Regions from separate parts of the Homo sapiens genome. Here region 1 is linked to region 2. The links are contacts of gene promoters, found by promoter capture Hi-C in blood cells and fetal thymus (Javierre and others, 2016). All regions are on one chromosome and are shown on one strand. Each heading gives the region's core, a stretch centred on a gene start or on the middle of the fragment in contact. The rest is flanking DNA. Distances are from core to core; before and after follow the strand shown.

Region 1 (6,571 bases), core at 3,255-5,754, 170 kb before region 2:
CGTTTAGGAACCAACAATGACTAGATAGCAAGCAGCCAGGTATGCAATGATGATAAAAACATAGGGCCAGGGGGCTGGTGGTGCACACCTGGAATCCCAGCACTTTCGGAGGCTAAGGCAGGTGGATCATCTAAGCTCAGGAGTTCAAGACCAGCCTGGACAACATGGTGAAACCCTGTCTCTACTAAAAATACAAAAATTAGCCGGGCGTGGTGGCGCATGCCTGTAATTCCAGCTACTCAGGTGGCTAAGGCAGAATTGCTTGAACCCAGGAGGCAGAGGTTGCAGTGAGCCAAGATCGCACAACTGCACTCCAGCCTGGGTGACGGAGTGAGACTCTGTCTCAAAAAACAAAACAAAACAAAACATATGGCCGGGCATGGTAGTTCATGTCTGTAATCCCAGCACTTTGGGAGGCTGAGGCAGGCAGATCGCTTGAGCCCAGGAGTTTGACACTAGGCTGGGCAACATAGGGAGACCCCATCTCTACAAAAAAAAATAAAAAATTAGCCGAGCCAGGAATGGTGGCTCACGCCTATAATCCCAGCATTTTGCGAGGCCAAGATGGGCAGACTGCTTGAGCCCAAGAGTTCAAGAACAGCCCGGGCAACATAGCGAAATTTCCTCTCCACAAAAAATACAAAAATTAGCCGGGCGTGGTGGTGCAGGCCTGTGGTCCCAGCTACTTGGGAGGCTGGGCAGGAGGATTGCTTGAGCCCAGGAAGTCGAGGCTTCTGAGCTGTGATCACGCCACTGTACTCCAGCATGGGTGACAGAGCAAGACCCTGTCTCCCCTCCCCCAGCATATACACACAAAAAATTAGCCTAGCATGGTGGCACGTGCCTGTAGTCCCAGCTACTCAGGAGGCTGAGACAGGAGGATCGCTTGAGCCTGGGAGGTCCAGACTGCAATAGCTGTGATTGTACCACCACACTCCAGCCTAAGTGACAGAGTGAGAACTTGTCTCAATCAATCAATAAAAATAAAATGAAATAAAATGGCAGAGTACAGCCAGCACTCCGTATCCATGATGTAGAACCTGCAGATACAAAGAGCCAACTGTAACCTCCTCAAAAATCCACTGGAGAAGGGAGGCCTCTGAACAACCAACTCTAATTTCAAGTTCCTCACTTCTTTAGTGAGAGTATGAATAAAATGCTAGGGCTACACAGAGGTTACTACTCATTTATGGAAAATAGCAAACATAAATCCTTAAAAGAAATGCAAAAAAGCTGCAGCAGATCCACAGAGAGCTCATACAGGCCATGACACTATACTGACCACAGTTTAATTCAAGATCAACAGAAGGCTGGGCACGGTGGCTCACACCTGGAATCCCTGCACTTTGGGAGACCGAGGCAGGCAGATTACCTGAGGTTGGGAGTTCGAGACCAGCCTGACCAACATGGAGAAACCTCATCTCCACTAAAAATACAAAATTAGCCAGGCGTGGCAGCGCATGTCTGTAATCCCAGCTACTCAGGAGGTTGAGGCAGGAGAATCGCTTGAACCCAGGAGGTGGAGGTTGCGGTGAGCTGAGATCACGCCATTGCACTCCAGCCTGGGCAACAAGAGTGAAACTCTGTCTCAAAAAAAAAAAAAGATCAACAGAAAAATTCCCATTGGCAGAGTTCATACCCATTGGCAGAGTTAACACACAGAGTTGCCCTGTCCCAATGATTCATGACAGAATTCCCAATGTGACTTTGCCTCTCACCACCTAATCCTACCCCACATTCATAAAACTTTCTTAAGCTTGGCCAGTCCATGATGTTAACACTGACACCCCCTTTCACACACTAGTTTAATATTTCTCAGTACTTGTCAGGGTTTAGGTTTCTTGGAGGCACTCTGCATGATTCTTTTTGCAGCACCTGACAAAACGGTCAGGTTTCTTTGGGTGTTTTCTAACGACTTCCCGTGGTTATAATGATGGAAAGAACATTCTCAGGAATAAAACACTCATCACCATGCACAGGAAAGATGAGGAAAGAGCAGAAGATGGAAGGGGACACCTATGAGATTATGGTGAGATATTCCATGCCTACCTGGGGCCACTTCAATAAAAAGAATCTCACACAGGTTCCAGATGAGCTCCATTGCTGACAAAATGGAGACCTAAGGAAGAAATGGGGACAGGTTTCACCTGAAATGATTCCTGAGCTTTGCTCTCAGAGCCAAGGGATAAAGCAGACTTTGACTCATATGACAGTCATTCCTTAACCCAAAGGTTACTGCAATCCTACTGGAGGATTTCCCACAGGGGAGCCAGCGTGAGGATGTTAGGTGGTGGGATGGAGACCAACACTATTTTGTTTTAGTGGTTGTGATTTTATTTTACTGTGCATTACAAAAATAACTTGGCCAGGTGCAGTGGCTCATTCCTGTAATCCCAGCACTTTGGGAGGCCAAGGCAGGTGGAATGCTTGAGTCTAGGAGTTTGAGACCAGCTTGAGCAACATGGCAAGATCCTGTCTCAACAAAAAATATAAAAATTGGCCAAGTGTAGTGACATATCCCCGCAGTCTCAGCTACTCAGGAGGCTGAGGTGGGAGCATCACTTGAGCCCAGGAAGTTGAGTCTGAGTGAGCCATAATCGTGCCACTATTCCAGCCTGGGCAAGAGCGAGACCTTGTCTCAAAATTTAAAAAAAGAAAAAATATAACTTGCATGTCACCAGTTATTATTTATTTATCTTTTGAGATGGAGTTTGGCTCTTGCTGCCCAAGCTAGAGTGCAGTGGCATAATCTTGGCTCACTGCAACTTCCGCCTCCCGGGTTCAAGTGATTCTCCTGCCTCAGCCTCCCCAGTAGCTGGGATTACAGGCGCCTGCCACCATGCCCAGCTAATTTTTTGTATTTTTAGTAGAGACGAGGTTTCACCTTGTTAGCCAGGAAGGTCTCGATCTCCTGACCTCGTGATACACCTGCCTCGGCCTCCCAAAGTGCTGGGATTACAGGCTTGAGCCACCGTGCCCTGCCAACACTCAGTTTTTGTTTTTTGTTTTTTTTTTTGAGACAGAGTCTCACTCTGTCAGTCAGGCTGGAGTGCAGTGGCATGATCTCGGCTCACTGCAACCTCTGCCTCCAGGGTTCAAGCAATTCTCCTGCCTCAGCCTCCCAAGTGGCTGGGATTACAGGCGCACACCACCACGCCTAGCTAAATATTGTATTTTTAGTAGAGATGGAGTTTCCGTGTTGGCCAGGCTAGTTTCGAACTCCTAACCTCAAGAGATCCACCCACCTCGGCCTCTCAAAGTGCTGGGATTACAGGCGTGAGCCACTGCGCCCAGCCTATCTTGATGAACTGATGCTTTAGCAAGGTGCTTCATTTGAGTAAAAAGAAGAGACAATATTTAGAAGAATATTCAGTAGATGACATGAAACACGTAGACAGAGCAAGAATTGTGAAGCTGGTATTCAAAGGACTGAAGTTTAGGGGAACAGTCTATTAACGGGAAAGCCCAATATAAGACCCCGAAATAAATCAGACCTGGACCTTGCCCTTAGGAATACGCAGGCTTCCCTTCCTCACCATCCTTCAGTCCACAGACACCATGATGACTTGTTCATAAGGGTACTTCAGAGACAGTGAATTACTACCTAGTCACTACTGACTTTGAAAAGTATCTAATATGAAGCATCTACTGAGGAAAAAGATACTGTAAGTCATCTTCCAGCTCCAAGTAAAGTAGAGCCACTTGCAACTCAGTAAAAATGTTGAGTTTAGCCGGGCGCAGTGGCTCACACTTGTAATCCCAGCACTTTGGGAGGCTGAGGCAGGCAGATCACGAGGTCAGGAGATCGAGAGCATCCTGGCTAACACGGTGAAACCCCCTCTCTACTAAAAATACAAAAAATTAGCCCAGCTACTCGGGAGGCTGAGGCAGGAGAATGGCATGAACCTGGGAGGCGGAGCTTGCAGTGAGCCGAGATCGCGCCACTGCATTCCAGCCTGGGCGACAGAGAGAGACTCCGTCTCAAAAAAAAAAAAAAAAAAAAAAAAAAACTTGAGTTTTGCCAGGTGTGGCAGCTCACACCTATAATCCCAGCACTTTGGGAGGCCAAGGCAGGAGGATCACTTGAGCCCAAGAGTTCGAGACCAGCTTTGACAACACAGAGAGACCCTGTCTTTCAAAAAAAAAATGTTGAGTTCAAGAAGTGAGGAGTGTTTATGAGACCGAGCAGTGATCTCACAAGATTACTTCTCCATTTCAGGTGACAACCCCTCAACACAATTTGGTCAGGACATATATGTTCCATAAGAACGGAACATTCAGGGCCAGCACGGTGGCTTACACCTGTAATCCCACCACTTTGGGAGGTCGAGGCGGGTGGATCACTTGAGGTCAAAAGTTCAAGACCAGCCTGGCCAACATGGTGAAACCCCATCTCTACTAAAAATGCAAAAAGTAGCTGGGCTTGGTGTGGCATGCACCTATAATCCCAGCTACTCGGGAGGCTGAGACAGGAGAAATGCTTGAACCCAGGGCACTCCAGCCTGGGTGACAGAGCAAGACTCCATCTCAAAAAAAAAAAAAAGGAACCGAACATTCACTCAAGTATTTAACAAGCACTTCCTTGTGAGCTACACCTTGAAGGGGGCAAGACAATCACTGTCACCCAAAGGAGCTGCCTATCTACCTGAAAAGAAGAGACTTCTGCCATAACAGGAACTGCAAAGCCACCCCAGGTGGGTGCCCAGGACACAGGACACAGTGGTGCTAAAACAATAAAGGTGACTCCCCTTACCTGGCTGCTGAACTGGCGGCCATTGGCTGGATCTTTAGCAGCAACTAACAAAACACAAAACATTTTAAGTGAGCAATGGAACTCTTAGGCTTATTGTCATAGCTGAATATTCCAGGGTCTATGGCTTGAGCCTCTGTTTATTTTAATGAGAAAAATTAAAAGACATTATAATCTCTTTTAATTATGGATTTTTTTGTTGCTGTTAATGCTTCATATCCCTTCAATTCTCAAACCAAAAGCCCTCAAGTTACAAAATGGCACTTTCAACTGCAACACAGCTACCATAAAGGTCTCTGACATGCCAAGCACAGTGGCTCACACCTGTAATCCCGACACTTTGGGAGGCTGATGTCAAAGGACTGCTTGAGCCCAGGAGTTCAAGAACAGCCTGGAAAAATTAGGGAGACCCCGTTTCTACAAATAATTTAAAAATTATCAGAACAAAGTTCTCTGAGGAAAACTGGACAAAAACTGTTTAAATTAGCTGGGCATGGTAGTACACACCTGCAGTCCCAACTACTTGGAAGGATGAGGTAGGAAGATCACTTGAGCCCAGGCGGTGAGCTCATGACTGCAGTGAGCCATAATGTTTCTTTGCACTCCAGCCTGGGCAACCTTGTCTCAAAAAAAAAAAAAAAAAAAAAAAAAAACTCCAGGCACAGTGGCTGACTCCTGTAATCCCAGAACTCTGGGCTTGGTGGTGTACAACTGTAGTCCCAGCTACTCAGGAGGCTGAGGCTAGAGAATCGTTTGAACCTGGGAGGTGGAGGTTGCAGTGACCTGAGTTCATGCCACAGCACCTCAGCCTGGGCGACAGAGCAACACTCGGTCTCAAAAAAAAAAAAAAAAAAAAAAAAAAAAAAAAAAAAAAACAACAACAAAAAAAAAAACCTCTAAATGATTACCAAAAAAGTAAGGATTATGAAAGATGGAAAAATAAGTTTTGGACTGGAATATCAATCAAACTTTACCTCACAGTATTTATGCATAGATAAATACTCAAAATACCCACACACACACACACACACACACGCGCGCACGCGCACACAGTCCTTACTTGCAACCTGGTGCATTTCCTCCATACATGCTCTGATGACTGATCGGTAGTTTTTACTCACTCGAACCAATCTACAAAAAATGAAATAACACACAAGATGAGCCTGGAACATCTTGTAGTGCCACAAAGGAAGGAAACACTCAAATAAATGCAGAAATTTGCTGAAAGAAAGAGGAGAGCCGTTGTGAAGGAGCTCCTAACCTTCTGAAGCTGGAACAACTTGGACAACAAAATAAAACGCCACAAAACAACCCATGGGCTAAAGTTAATATCCACAAACCCATACTGCCATTAATTGTTGCAGATGAAATCTACTGGTCAGACCTTGTCTCAAAAAAATAAAAAAGATACATAAATGTATTTACTGGCCAGGCCCGGTGGCTCAGGCGTGTAATCCCAGCACTTTGGGAGGTGAAAGTGGGCAGATCACCTGAGGTCAGGTGTTTGAGACCAGCCTGGCCAACCTGGTGAAACCCTGTCTCTACTAAAAATACAAAAATCCCAGCTACTCAGGAGGCTGAGGCAGGAGAATCTCTTGAACCCGGCAGGCGGAGGTTGCAGTGAGCCAAGATCATGCCATTGCACTCCAGCCTGGGCGACAGAGTGAGACTCCATCTGAAAAAAAAAAAAAAAGAATAAGACAGGGTCCCCTGCCAGCAAGGAATTACAGGACTTTTGACATGTTTTTTTCCTAGAAGTGACAATAGATTTCTCAAACTCACCAATATTCTCCACTAGAGTCCCTTAAATCCAATAATCAG
Region 2 (6,254 bases), core at 1,402-3,901:
TAGTCCCAATGCCCTACAAACCACAAAGATGAGGCAAGTAATGATACACCTGACAATGAACTAGAGAATGAATTAGGTCAGCTGCAAACATTTACAGGGAAGCATGAGGCCAGAGTCTTAAAAGAAATGAGGCCAAGCCTTTATTATTTTTGTACAACTGTGAGTTCAAACCAAAATTAAAACTATAAATAATTGAATGTCAGAGATGTCTTGCTTCTTCAGACTACAGACACTCACTGCTAGCACACAAACAAATGTAAAAAAAGGATCGTGACAATTCTGGAGATTCGGAAAGAACTCCTGAAGTTATCTGCAAAGCGGAGCTACCTATCTTCCTTCTCACCCAGGAAGCTGAACAAAGCCTAAGGAGGCTTCCTTAATCATGACTCCCTCAGACAAGACTGGTAGTTTCTGCTCTGTTTCATAAACCTGAAACTATACCTGCACATGCGCCTGATGAAAATGTCAAACAAAATTGAAATCTGTAAAACAACTTTAAAGATTCTACTTGCATTTTGAAAATCCCCAATGCAAACAGTGCGCTTACCTTCTTCTGCCAACTCCTTAGTGATGATGAGTTTCCCGTGGCGGAGGTAGTTGAGGATAGGACCAAAGTAGGTGGGGTCCCTGTCAATCAGATAGGCTCCTGTCTCATCCTGCCAACCAAACACAAGGGTATCATTGTGGACCTTTGAGGAGTATTTTAAACAAAGGCAGGGCAGGATTTCACCATCTTTGTCAGCGCCCCAAGACAACAATTCATTCCATCAGCTAAAAAAGACTTTAGTGATGGCAAATTTTGTTACACATTTGTCACAAACTATTGGTAAGAAAGCTATAGCTTTATGTATCTTGTACATTAAGATCATCTTAGGTAGGGTGTTACAGACAGTCATACTCATTTAGGCGTTTACTTACTGGCTGGAATTTGCAATCTTTGCCTGGACAATAATTACAGTGACAAACATTCTTCTGTAGCGTGTTTGTTATTAAGAAAGGGAGAAAATGCCGTAGCTGTGTAACTGAAATCTTTGCTTGAGATGGACATTCTGACTTTTCCACTGCCTCTGAACTGCATTCCTAATTCCAAGAAAACCTCTGTGTAGTTGGCAATGCTCCTGAGCTCAAGGCCAACATCAGTGGGAGTTTGCACTGCCAGCTGTAATCTCACACACCCCAGCTCTGTGCCCAGAGGAAGCTCGGTACTGCCAGGACTTGGCTCTGAGCAGCTTTAATCCTACTCATCTTTACAGTAAAAGGAACAAGAAGAAACTGGCTTCTATTACCACAAGGAGGATATAGAGTAGATAAAAATAATTCCTTTATAAGCAAGGGTTTTGAAATCTCTTTAAAGTTAGGGCAGGATAGGTTTCCATCAATCTGAGATTTCTTAGAGAAGAGGAATAAACGAAAACAACAAATGTTTACGCAACTCCAGCTCTGTTTTGAGGTCACCAGCTGAGTGCTATATGGGATATAAGATGGTGTGAGTTATGGTCAGTGCCTTTAAGTTGAGAACTTAAAGGTGAATACGTAAAGTTAAAAAGAAATTGACACAGTTCAAACTGGAAATGGTTTAAGTGTCTTGTCACCTCTCAACCCTTTGGTTAGCAGCCATGCATCCTGCCCAAAATTTTCCCGGGAAAATTTTCATTTTCCTTCTGTCTTAGCCTAGATTTGCAGCGGCAAACAGTAACCTCTTTCCAAAAAACGCATTTGATCTAAATATGGACCTAAACCAGTGACTGTTAACAGATAAAAGTTCTGCGACCAGGACTATAGAAAAGCAGTGTGATATCACAAGGAGCGCTTCCTGCAGCTGTGGAAGCCCAACTTGGCAGAGGGGTCCGAGAGGGAGTCTGAGAAAGCTACAAGGATGCCTGAGCTAACCCTGACCCAGTTCTGGATGCATCTGGCACCGGCAGTGGGGGGACTGAAGAGGAGCCAGGGAAAACTCATGCAGATCTCAGTGGGATGTCAGGGGCAGAGAATATGGAGAAGGGGTGTGGAGTGCGTTCTCGTGGGTGCAGGTGGGCGCAGTGTGGGAAGGAGTCTCAGAGAACGAAGGGCGGGGTCGGGGAGAAAGCCAGAGTATGCCTCAGCATGGAAGAAGGGGAGTGGGAGGTCCCTCTGAGGCCCCTGCGAGTAGTGTGGGAGGGAGGGGGAGGATGGGGTCCCGGCCTGAGGGGGCTGCCTGTGAGGAGCGTGTCTCAGGACTCTGGGGACCGATCTACGAGAAACCAGGGGGTTCGAAGGCCCGGGGGCGCGCCCGAGGGCGGGGCACACCTTGTCTGAGTCCAGCTCCGGGTCCTCCTGGCAGCAGAGGCGGCAGAGAAATGACTTGGGCTCCCGGCCTAAGGTCTGTCTGGTGGTCACGAAGTAGGTGCCTCCCACGTTCAGCCTGACCCAGCGGGCCGCGCCGCCGCCCCCTGCCCGCTCGGGTGGTCCGGGACCCGGCTCCAGCGGCTGCGCGACGGCGGCAGCCGGGCGGCCGTGCCCGCGGGGCGTGGGGCCAGCCGGGCGTGGGCTGGGGGGCCCGCGGACTGGGCCACCCCCGTCGCCCACCCCACTCCCGCCGCCCCCTCCCAGCCCCGCCATCGCCGGGTCCAGCTGCAGTTCCGCCATCTTGGACCGCCGCCGCCACCGCTGCTGCCCGCGCGCAGCCGGGCCGGCCCATTTCTCGGCAGGGAGAGCCGGGCCGGCCCATCGGCGGGGGTGGGGCAGAGGGGAGAGGGACGGGAGCGCCCCCAACCAGCGCCCGGGGACCCGCGCGGGGGAGGCGCTGTGCCCGCCCCCGGGAAGATACTTCCGGAACCAGCCCTCATCTCTATTGGCTGATCTGCGAAGCAAGGCCCACCCCCTTGGCTTTGGGGTTGGCTGAGGAAAGATCTTCCCGTGACCCACTTCCGTTACTTGCTGCGGAGGACCGTGGGCAGCCAGGGTCGGTGAAGGTGAGTGGGGCTTGGGGCATTGGATCCGATCCCTGGAGGGCTCCTCTGCTCTGCCCTCTCCAAACCTCACGCCGACCCTTGTCACGCCCCCGTCAAGGACGCTGGGCCCTCGGCTTGCCCCGCTGGCAGAGTGTCCCTTGTGTAGCTGCCGCTCCTCGCCCCGCGATCCCTTCCTCAGCCCTCCTTGGCGCGCGGGGTCAGGGGGGCCCGGCTGTGTCCCAGGCGCCGCTGATGTAGGCGCTGCCACAAGCCGTGTCTCGTGCAGTCCGCTCCCAGCGCGGCAGACTTCAATAGTTTGGTGGGGGGACTGGGGAAACATTACGCAGACAGTGTTAACCTGCCGAGGGACGCTCAGCTGGCTGCGGGGCTGCGCCCTTCCCCTTCGGCAGCTTCCAGGATTCGAACGTATAGAGCGTTCAGGGCTCCTCGGGTGCAGAGTTCGGTTACTCATTCAAGAAAGATTCATTGAGCACCTCCTATGCGCATGATCTGTTCTAGGCGCTGGGGATTAAGCAATAGATTTTTAAGAATTAAAAAAAATTTCGCCGGGCGCGGTGGCTCACGCCTGTAATCCCAGAATTTTAGGAGGCCAAGGCGGGCGAATCGCGAGGTCAGGAGTTCGAGACCAGCCTGGCCAACGTAGTGAAACCCCGCCTCTACTAAAAATACAAAAAATTAGCTGGGCGTGGTGGAAGGCCCCTATAATCCCAGCTGCTCGGGAGGCTGAGGCAGGAGAATCGCTTGAACCCGGGAGGCGGAGGTTGCAGTGAGCCGAGACCACGCCACTACACTCCAGCCCAGGCGACAGTGCGAGACTCCGTCTCACTCACACACACACACAAAGTTATTTGTGACTTCCATTTTCCACTGATGTTGCGGGAAATCAGGGACCCCAAACAGAGAGACCGGCTGAAACCATGGCAGAAGAACGTGGATTGTGAAGATTTTATGGACATTTATTAGTTCCCCAAATTAATACTTTTGTAATTTCTTATGCCTGTCTTTACTGCAATCTCTAAACATAAATTGTAGAGATTTCATGGACACTTATCACTTCCCCAGTCAATACTCTTCTGATTTCCTATGCCTGTCTTGTCTTTAATCTCTTAATCCTGTCAGTTGAGGATGTATATCGTTCCAGGACCCTGTAATAATTGTGTTAACTACAAAAATTGTACAGCATGTGTGTTTGAGCAATATGAAATGTGGGCACCCTGAAAAAAGAACAGGATAACAGCAATTGTTCAGGGAACAAGAGAGAACCTTAAACTCTGACCGCCGGTGAGCCGGGCAGAACAGAGCCATATTTCTCTTCCTTCAAAAGCAAATGGGAGAAATATCGCTGAATTCTTTTTCTCAGCATGGGATATCCCTGAGAAAGAGAATGCGCACCTAGGGGTAGGTCTCTGAACTGGCCCCCCTGGGGCGTACCTGTCTCTTATGGTTGAGACTGCAGGGGTGAAATAAACTCCAGTCTCCCATAGCGATCCCAGGCTTATTAGGAAAAGGAAATTCCCACCTAATAAATTTTGGTCAGACCGGTTGATCTGAAAACCCTGTCTCCTGATAAGATGTTATCAATGACAATGGTGCCCAAAACTTCATTAGCAATTTTAATTTCGCTCTGGTCCTGTGGTCTTGTGATCTCACCCTGCCTCCACTTGCCTTGTGATATTCTATTACCCTGTTAAGTACTTGATGTCTGTCACCCACACCTATTCGTATACTCCCTCCCCTTTTGAAACTCCCTAATAAAAACTTGCTGGTTTTTGTGGCTTGTGGGGCATCACGGATCCTACCAACGTGTGATGTCTCCCCCGGACGCCCAGCTTTAAAATTTCTCTCTTTTGTACTCTGTCAAGCCAGTCGACGCTTAGGAAAATAGAAAAGAACCTATGTGACTATCGGGGCAAGTTCCCCGATACACTGATGTTTGGGAAAGTCTGTAAGGGTGCTTGGTTCCCTGGTAACTTTAAAATCACATGCCAATTGCCTTAACACCTCCCCTCCACAACAGGAAACAGGCTGTCCTGAGAAAGAAAGGAAGGACAGGACAGGTGTTTGACAACTTTCTTGAAGATCCTGAGAAAGACTGCTTCCGCCTCCCTTGCATTCCACTCCAAGCTTATAGAGATTTTTGACTTTGCAGTCTTTTAATATCTGACCCTGATCTTACTTAAAGAGGACTATTTTCCTATATTCTGACTTTTTTTTTAAGTGGCTGTAGTCGTTTTCTGTATTTTTCTCACATTTTCACATGTGTTGAATACCTCTTAAAATGCAGGCCGGGCGCGGTGGCTCATGCCTGTAATTCCAGCACTTTGCAAGGCTGAGGTGGGTGGATCACCTGAGGTCTGGAGTTTCAGCCCATCCTGGCCAACGTGGAGAAACCCTGTCTCTACTAAAAATACAAAAATTAGGGCCGGGCGCGGTGGCTCACGCCTATAATCCCAGCACTTTGGGAGGCCGAGGCGGGTGGATCATGAGGTCAGGAGATCGAGACCATCCTGGCTAACAAGGTGAAACCCCGTCTCTACTAAAAATACAAAAAATTAGCCGGGCGCGGTGGCGGGCGCCTGTAGTCCCAGCTACTCGGGAGGCTGAGGCAGGAGAATGGCGTGAACCCGGGAAGCGGAGTTTGCAGTGAGCCGAGATTGCGCCACTGCAGTCCGCAGTCCGGCCTGGGCGACAGAGCGAGACTCCGTCTCAAAAAAAAAAAAAAAAATACAAAAATTAGCTGGGTGTGGTGGTGGGTGCCTGTAATCCCAGCTACTCCGGAGGCTGAGGCAGGAGAATCGCTTGAGCCTGGGAGGTGGAGGTTGCAGTGAGCCAAGATGATGCCACTGCACTCCAGCCCGGGGGACAGAGTGAAACTCCATCTCAAAAAAAAAAAAAAAAAAAGTGCACAACGTGTGCTGGTGCTGCTAGGGTATAATCCGATGTGAATAAGAAGGTGCAGGTGTATTACCAATCTAGTTGGAAGGGGATAGCCCTTTTAAGTTTGTAAAACTCTGGAGCAAGTTGCTGTGCACAATTTCATGTGACACTTTTAGCAGCCCTCTGGGGCAAGCAGGACTGATAATGCCCATTGTACACATAAGTAAATTTTAGCCTAGAGAGTGCTCTATTTAAGGCTTGTTGAAACTTAGGTGTGTGTCAGTTTCTGTCTACTGGAGAATCAGTGAATAAAACACAATCTGGGTGGAAATGTCTTTATTAACTTTTATGCAATAAGAGTGTTATTTTTAGTAATTTTTCCAGAGGCACATGGAGGGGATAAAGAGAGCTGGGGTTTGTTTTTTT

The links. The method cuts DNA at HindIII sites, captures the fragments that hold promoters and counts their contacts. A CHiCAGO score of 5 or more calls a contact.
Region 1: a contact is called between a fragment that was not itself captured here and the fragment with the promoter of KCTD2 in region 2, in 5 of 17 cell types (erythroblasts, M2 macrophages, megakaryocytes and 2 more). The highest score is 9.2, in erythroblasts.

The regions. Positions count from the first base shown.
Region 1 is chr17:75,211,302-75,217,872 of GRCh38, reverse strand. NUP85 (nucleoporin 85) reads right to left here. Exons shown (of 19, transcript NM_024844.5): 4 at 5,811-5,881; 5 at 4,754-4,797; 6 at 2,050-2,119. Among named protein-coding and RNA genes, the nearest start is that of NUP85, 8.9 kb to the right of the region's middle. The HindIII fragment of the contact is 5,491 bases long and covers 1,759-6,571 here.
Region 2 is chr17:75,043,622-75,049,875 of GRCh38, reverse strand. It overlaps KCTD2 (potassium channel tetramerization domain containing 2), which reads right to left and starts at 2,651. Exons shown (of 6, transcript NM_015353.3): 1 at 2,287-2,651; 2 at 548-656. The coding sequence starts at 2,625. It overlaps ATP5PD (ATP synthase peripheral stalk subunit d), which reads left to right and starts at 2,907. Exons shown (of 6, transcript NM_006356.3): 1 at 2,907-2,951. RefSeq lists enhancers at 2,668-2,962, 2,847-3,432, 3,371-3,440 and a silencer at 2,541-2,970. The HindIII fragment of the contact is 5,200 bases long and covers 1-5,077 here.